Regions from separate parts of the Homo sapiens genome. Here region 2 is linked to region 1. The links are contacts of gene promoters, found by promoter capture Hi-C in blood cells and fetal thymus (Javierre and others, 2016). All regions are on one chromosome and are shown on one strand. Each heading gives the region's core, a stretch centred on a gene start or on the middle of the fragment in contact. The rest is flanking DNA. Distances are from core to core; before and after follow the strand shown. Region 1 holds the start of IPP (intracisternal A particle-promoted polypeptide). Region 2 overlaps MAST2 (microtubule associated serine/threonine kinase 2).

Region 1 (3,462 bases), core at 425-2,924:
AAAGGAAAAAAAGGGGGTGGGGGCGGAGAAACCATGTATTTGGCCCTACACAGAAATGTGACCTGGAACTATTATCAACATGACATGACTGTCAGGCCTTTTCTGTTTTACATTTCTGTCAGCACATTTTGAACCCTAGTGGTTTAATTACAAGGTACCTCCTCTGTCCCCTACTTCAAGGCATCAAGCACAGCCACTGAGCTAAAATGCTGCCTCCTGCTACAAGAAAGAGTTGACTGAATATCCATTCGGGTGGCAGACAACAGAAATACTAGTCTGTTACCATGCTTCTCAGTAACTGCTGATACCATCCCACTGTCAGTGGAGTAGGAACGTCATCCCAAAAGGTGGCATGTGGAGTGACCATATTTCCAAAGGAAAAGAGCACAATTCTGTGACGTTGCATGCCTCACGTGCCCCAAACTTGAAAAGCAGATTGTTGACTGGGCAAGGTGGCTCACACCTATAACCCCAGCACTTTGGGATGTCCTGTCGGGAGGATCGCTTGATTTTTTGTTTTTTTTTTTTGTTTTGTTTTTGTTTTTTGTTTTTTTTTTTTTGAGACGGAGTCTCGCTCTGTCGCCCAGGCTGGAGTGCAGTGGCACGATCTCGGCTCACTGCAAGCTCCGCCTCCCGGGTTCACGCCATTCTCCTGCCTCAGCCTCCCGAGCAGCTGGGACTACAGGCGCCCGCCACCACGCCCGGCTAATTTTTTGCATTTTTAGTAGAGACGGGGTTTCACCGTGTTAGCCAGGATGGTCTCGATCTCCTGACCTCGTGATCCGCCCGCCTCGGCCTCCCAAAGTGCTGGGATTACAGGCGTGAGCCACCGCGCCCGGCCAGGGAGGATCGCTTGAGTCCTAGAGTTCAAGACCAGCCTGGGCAATACAGCGAGCCCCCCGCCGCAAAAAAAATTGTTTTAACATTAGCTGGCTGTGATGGGGCAAGCCTGTACTTCCGGCTACTTGGGAGGCTGAGGTGAGAGGATCGCTAGAGCCTGAGAAGTCGAGGCTGCAGTGAGTTGTGATCGCACCACTGCATTCCAGCCTAGGAGAAGGGGCGAGACTGTCTCAAAAAAAAAAGCAGATTATTAGGAAACGGTAGAAATGCCCAGAGGAACTAAAGCGGACCTATGTTTGCTGGCTTTGAATTCACTGCTGGGAACATGTGGAAACTGCTTCAGCAAAGGGGTGTCAGAAAGAATCCCCGGAACAAGTGTCAAAACACCCGTGGTTCTTTGTGCTTGAGTTGGGGGCCCGGCCTAGAGAGCTAGCCCTAAACTGCTGCTACACTAAAAGCTAATAATCGTTCCTGCGCTACCTAAAGGTCAGGGAAGGGATCTCAGACAAACGAGGCGACAACAGAGGGACTGGGGACACAGCCTCAGGATTCCCCAGTTGGGGCGGGGGAGGCAGGAGCGGTCCGGACGAGAAGGTCTGGGGAGGGCGACACTTAGACTGTCGGAGGAAGGCCTGCGGCGGCAGAAGGAAAGACAAGGAAATACACAGTTCTAGAGGCTTCTCTCACTCCAGTCCTCAGGGGTCCGGAAAGCCGGAGGGAGTAGAAGAGGAAGTTCCCAACCCCGTCACAGACGCGCCCGAACGCAGGCCCTCCTTACCCGCCGCTTCCCCTTCCCTCCGGCGCCCGCTCAGGCCCTGCGCGCGCAGTCGCGACCAGCCCCGGCCGGAGAGGGCGGGGGAAACCTGGCGGGGGTGACGAGGCGGGAGTGACTGGGCCGTACAGTTCCCCGAGAACTGGAGGCGAAGCCGGGCGGTGGGAAGGGACTTCGGACGCTTCGCGGGCCCTGGGTTTTCACTGCGCGTGCGCGAGGTTCTTCCGCTCGCGGGAGACTGGGCCGCTGGCGCCTCTCAGTGCCCACTGATGGGGCCCAGGGCTTGGGCTTGCTTCCCCAAGGATCAACAGCTTAGCTGCAAGCCTCTGCTTCTGCCTGCTGGGGCCGGCTGGCTCGCCCTTTCCATTCCGCTTGCACTCTGATTCTTGTGGTGTCCCAAGAAGGCCGCGGATCTCAGTTAAGCAGAGACGAGCCGAACACCTGGCACGGTCCTTCTCTACTGTTCTCTCGAATCGTTTTCTGAGTGCATGACTGAGCCTGGCACTGAAGGGATACTTATTTTGGGGAAGGAAGAACTCAAAAGTCCAGTTTTTTTCACTGTTGACCCTCATGTGTCACATTAGTGGCTTTCAAACTGTTTTGATCCCAGCCTACGGTGAACAAAAATATTTTACATCAAACTCAATACCACATACTTGTGAGTATATATATAGAAGTATATATCTAACATAAAATCTCATTTCTTTATTTTTATTTTTATTTTTTATTTTTTGAGACGGAATTTCGCTCTTGTTGCCCAGGCTAGAATGAATGCAATGGCCGGATCTCGGCTCACCGCAACCTCCGCCTCCTGGGTTCAAGCGATTCTCCTGCCTCAGCCTCTCAAGTAGCTGGGATTGCAGGCATGCGCCACCATGCCCGGCTAATTTTGTATTTTTAGTACAGACTGAGTTTCTCCATGTTGGTCAGGCTGGTCTCAAACTCCCCACCTCAGGTGATCCGCCCGACTCGGCCTCCCAAAGTGTATTTCTTTCTCTTTTTATGAGACAGGGCCTGGCTTTGTCGCCCAGGCTGGAGTGCAGTGGTGCCATCTCGGCTCACTGCAGCCTCGACTTCCTGGGCTCTGGTAGTCCTCCCACCTCAGCCTCCTGAGTAGCTGGGACTACAGGCCTGTGCCACCACCGCCAGGCTAATTTTTTGTATTTTTAGTAGAGACAAGATTTCGCCATGTTGACCAGGCTGGTCTCCAACTCCTGGGCTCGAGTGATCCGCCCGCCTCGGCCTCCCAAAGTGCTGGGAGGTGTGAGCCACTGTGCCTGGCCTGAAACAAAATCTTCACAAAACTATGTTTACACTTACGACCCGCAGTGCACTAAATTTTTATTTCTTCTTTTCTACTTCATTACCAAAAACTGCTAACAGGGACCTATTGTCAGCAAACATTGTCAAAGACTTGGAAATGAGGAAAAGAGAATTCTGTGTGCCCTTTCAGTGTAAGGCTGGACGGATTTGCATCCATAGGGAGCTCTGACTTTCTATTGACTAAAGTATTTCACCAGAAAACTGGTAGTACTTAAAATAATTCTTGCCCGTCTGTAGAAAAGATACACCAAAACATTGTTTTATTGACCTGTAGCATATTAAGCCATTTTTACCCTTCTCAGCAAATTCATTTAAACATTCCTGATTCTTAGCAAATTCATGCTACATTCCTAAATATCTTACTGGCTCCCTTATAAGTTAATGAGATAAATAAAATATTTGATACTTTTTTTTTATATTTGTAAGAGAGTCATGGTTTTACTCTTCAGAAAATTATACTTCAGCACTACTAAAATCAATTTCATGACTTACTCTGGATTACACTTGTGAAAGTTAAGCATACAGAT
Region 2 (3,462 bases), core at 432-2,931, 120 kb after region 1:
AATGACTGACCAAGATTTTATAAGGAAGTAAGTAGCAGAATTGCATTCACATATTTTTCTGAGTCCTAGTTTCTTTATACCATGTAGAAATATCCTGTTAATATCATCAAGCTGTTCATCAAACTCAAATGAGAATAACACATTATTTATAGAATAAAGGTTTTTGTTTGTTTGTTTTTGTTTTTTCTTCTTGAGACAGAATCTCTCTCTGTTGCCCAGGCTGGAGTGCAGTGGTGTGATCTTGGCTTACTGCAGCCTCTGCCTCCCAAGCTCAAGTGATCTTCCCACCTCAGCCCCCTGAGTAGCTGGGACTGCTGGCACATGCCAATATGCCCAGCTATTTTTTGTAGTTTTTGTAGAGATGGGGTTTCACCATGTTGCCCAGTCTGGTCTCGAACTCCTGAGCTCAAGCAATCCTCTCGCCTCGGCATCCCAAAGTGCTGGGATTACAGGTGTGAGCCACTGTGACTGGTCTAAAGTATTTTCATGTACGTTACTTTATTTGACTTTTACAACTGCTGTATCTAAGCCTTTGAGGTAGATGGAATCCCAGGTCACACAGTTACATGTTTTTGAGCCACGACAGAAGCCTAGTTTTCCAAACTTTAAATTTTGTGTTCTTGACCAGGCATGGTGGCTCACGCCTATAATCCCAGCGCTTTGGGAGGCGGAGGCAAGTGGATCACGAGGTCAGGAGATAATGTTCCTTTTAAGACTAGATAGTAAATGATATTAACATAGATTTTCTTCCTCGGTAATATTTTTCTCTTCTTAAAGCATTCCGACTCTCCATGGAGTAACTACCAGCCAGGAGACTGTCAGTAAATAATATGTGATAATAGAGCATATTCTTCCCCTAGTAAAGCTTCTTGCTGAAATTATTGCAATTGATAGTTTTCATCAATGCAACTCCAAACTGGTAGGCAGGACCCTATTGTCTTATAATTGCCTTATAATGATGATAACAATAATAGTATGAACCATTTACTTACTTGATGGATTCATAGATTTATTCATCCAGTATTCATTTGTTGCCTACTAGGCTAGGTATTCTGCTGGGTGCCAGGAATGTCCTTGAGAGCAAGACTAATTCCTACTCTCCTGGAGCTAACAGTCAAAGAAAACAGATAATTTAGCAAATAATTATAGTAACCAGTGAAGTAGGTATGATTGAGGAATTAAAGGAATATTTGGATAATATATGGAAGGAGGCTGGGGAAACTGTAGAAAAACTTGCCAGAGGAAACGAAGTTTAAGCTGAAGTCCAGGAATGTATAAAAAGAGATAAAGAAAAGTAATCCAGACCAGGAGAACAGTAAGTGTGAAGACCTGAAGGTGAAAGAAAGCATGGCAAGTCTGAGTCCAAAACTCCAATAAGACTGGAGAATTATGCAAATGATACTGAGGAGGGAGGCAGTCAGAGCCAAGTAGTGCCCTGTAGACTACAGAAAGGATTTTAGACTTTATCCATTGCAGAATTATAAGAGAGAAAGGACACATTTAAAAAAGTTATTTTTGGCCGGGCACGGTGGCTCACGCCTGTAATCCCAGCACTTTGGGCGACCGAGGTAGGTGGATCACCTGGGGTCAGGAGTTCGAGACCAGCCTTACCAACATGGGGAAACCCTGTCTCTACTAAAAATACAAAAATTAGCCGGACGTGGTGGCGCATGCCTGTAATCCCAGCTACTTGGGAGGCTGAGGCAGGAGAATCGCTTGAACCTGGGAGACGGAGGTTGCAGTGAGCCAAGATCGCGCCACTGCACTCCAGCCTGGGTGACAGAACGAGACTTCATCTCAAAAAAATAAAAAGTTATTTTTGACTTCAGTATTTATTTCATTATACCCACAGTTATCACTCAGAAAACAGGTACTATATATGATATTTACATTGATATAACATTAATCAAGGGGGACAAAACTGAATGAAAGGGAGACCAATTAGGAGGATGTTATAGGATGATGGTGGCTTGTGCCCGGGGAAGTAGAAGTGAATTGACAGATTAAAGATAGATATTTTGGAAGTAGAATTGGCCGAGCTTGATGAATAATGGATGTAGAGAGTGAGAGAAAGTGAAAAATGAAGAATGACCCTGGGTTTGGTGGTACCATCATCAAAATAGAGAACAGAGAAGGAGCGAGACTGAGTAGAAAGATCAGCTGAGTTTTAGACATATTAAGGACAAGGTAGTTGTATGTACAACTATAGAGGTCAGCAAAAAGATCTGGGATAGAGATACAAATTTGAGATTGTAAAATATATAGAGAAAGGAGAGTGTACAAGCAGAACTAAAAGGACAGTCCCCATTTAAGGGTCTAAGGTGATGAAGGATGAGCCTGCAAAGATGTTTAAATGGTGTGTTTGCGGGGATAAGAGGAAAAACAAGAGAATGTGGCTTCATGGCAAGAAAAGTCTTCCAGGACAGAAGAGTGAATGATACTATCAGGTGCTGTTGAGCAGTGGAGCCAAAAAAGATAGGTGGACTAAAAATGCAGTGAAGCTTCATTACCCTGGCGTTATACATTACATTGGCAGTGTGCCAAGAATGGTTTAAATGGGCTGGTAAGGTCTAGGGATATTTATAGAGTGTTGAAGAATGAGTAGGAAGTGAGAAATTAGAGACATTGGATGTAGATAACTCATTCAAGAAGTGTGGTTGTGAAGGGAAATAAAATTGATAAGGCAGTATTTGAAGAGGGATGTGTAGTTATTAAGGGAATTTATTTCCTTATCTGAAGCTGGAATAGACTTGAATGTGTTCAGAATGCTAATCAGGAAGATCATTAAGAACATGAAGAGTCAAGAGATAATGAGTAGATCAGAGAAGGCTGAATGGAATGGGCTTCACCTGATATTGTAATGTATTACCAGGTATTACCAGCCTAGTTGCTGGAAGGTTATGAGTAAAATAATTTATGGTTATCTGTCTAAATGGGAGTACTCTTGCCTCAGCCAAGTTTCCTGATTGTGTAGCTTTTCTCCCCAACTTGCTGTGAATATTCCCTGGGAAAAGGAGGATTGAGAAATCATTGCTCCTTGGACTACCTTTATGTGGTTGGGCCCTTCTTGTTCCACTGTGCCTTAGTTGTCACAGAATGTACTGATCTGGAGTCCTGGGCATCAAATGCAGGCTTTTGTATAGGTGTAAGGAAGTCGGAAGGGATGGATTTCCACGGATGCGCTTCCGTGCCTCTAAAGGAATGCAGAGAGGGGCATATATGCATTTTAGGAAATTTTATTATTGTTAGCCAAAACTGTAGTCTACCATATTACCCATTTAAACTATTCAAGAAGTCAGAACTGTCATGTAGATTCAAAGAACAAATATTTCCAGTTTTATATAGATTGTTTCAGAAAGTAGAAAAAGAGGATATATTACCTTAGCACATTTTATGAGTGTCTTCGTCTGTTCGTGCTGCTATAAAAAAATACCACAGATTGGATCATTTATAAAGAACAGA

The links. Contacts are between HindIII fragments. The CHiCAGO score rates a contact against its expected background, and 5 or more counts as called.
Region 2: a fragment that was not itself captured here is called in contact with the fragment with the promoter of IPP in region 1 in 1 of 17 cell types (M1 macrophages); the score reaches 5.1 in M1 macrophages.

What each region holds. Positions count from the first base shown.
Region 1 is chr1:45,748,979-45,752,440 of GRCh38, forward strand. IPP (intracisternal A particle-promoted polypeptide) reads right to left here and starts at 1,675. Exons shown (of 9, transcript NM_005897.3): 1 at 1,619-1,675. LOC105378693 (a long non-coding RNA gene) reads left to right here and starts at 1,971. Exons shown (of 3, transcript XR_947290.2): 1 at 1,971-2,270. RefSeq lists a silencer at 1,516-1,785. The HindIII fragment of the contact is 27,355 bases long and covers 1-3,462 here.
Region 2 is chr1:45,873,647-45,877,108 of GRCh38, forward strand. All of the region lies in intron 3 of MAST2 (microtubule associated serine/threonine kinase 2), which reads left to right. LOC105378694 (a long non-coding RNA gene) reads right to left here. Exons shown (of 5, transcript XR_001738038.2): 3 at 3,047-3,193; 4 at 993-1,107. Among named protein-coding and RNA genes, the nearest start is that of MAST2, 72 kb to the left of the region's middle. The HindIII fragment of the contact is 1,636 bases long and covers 864-2,499 here.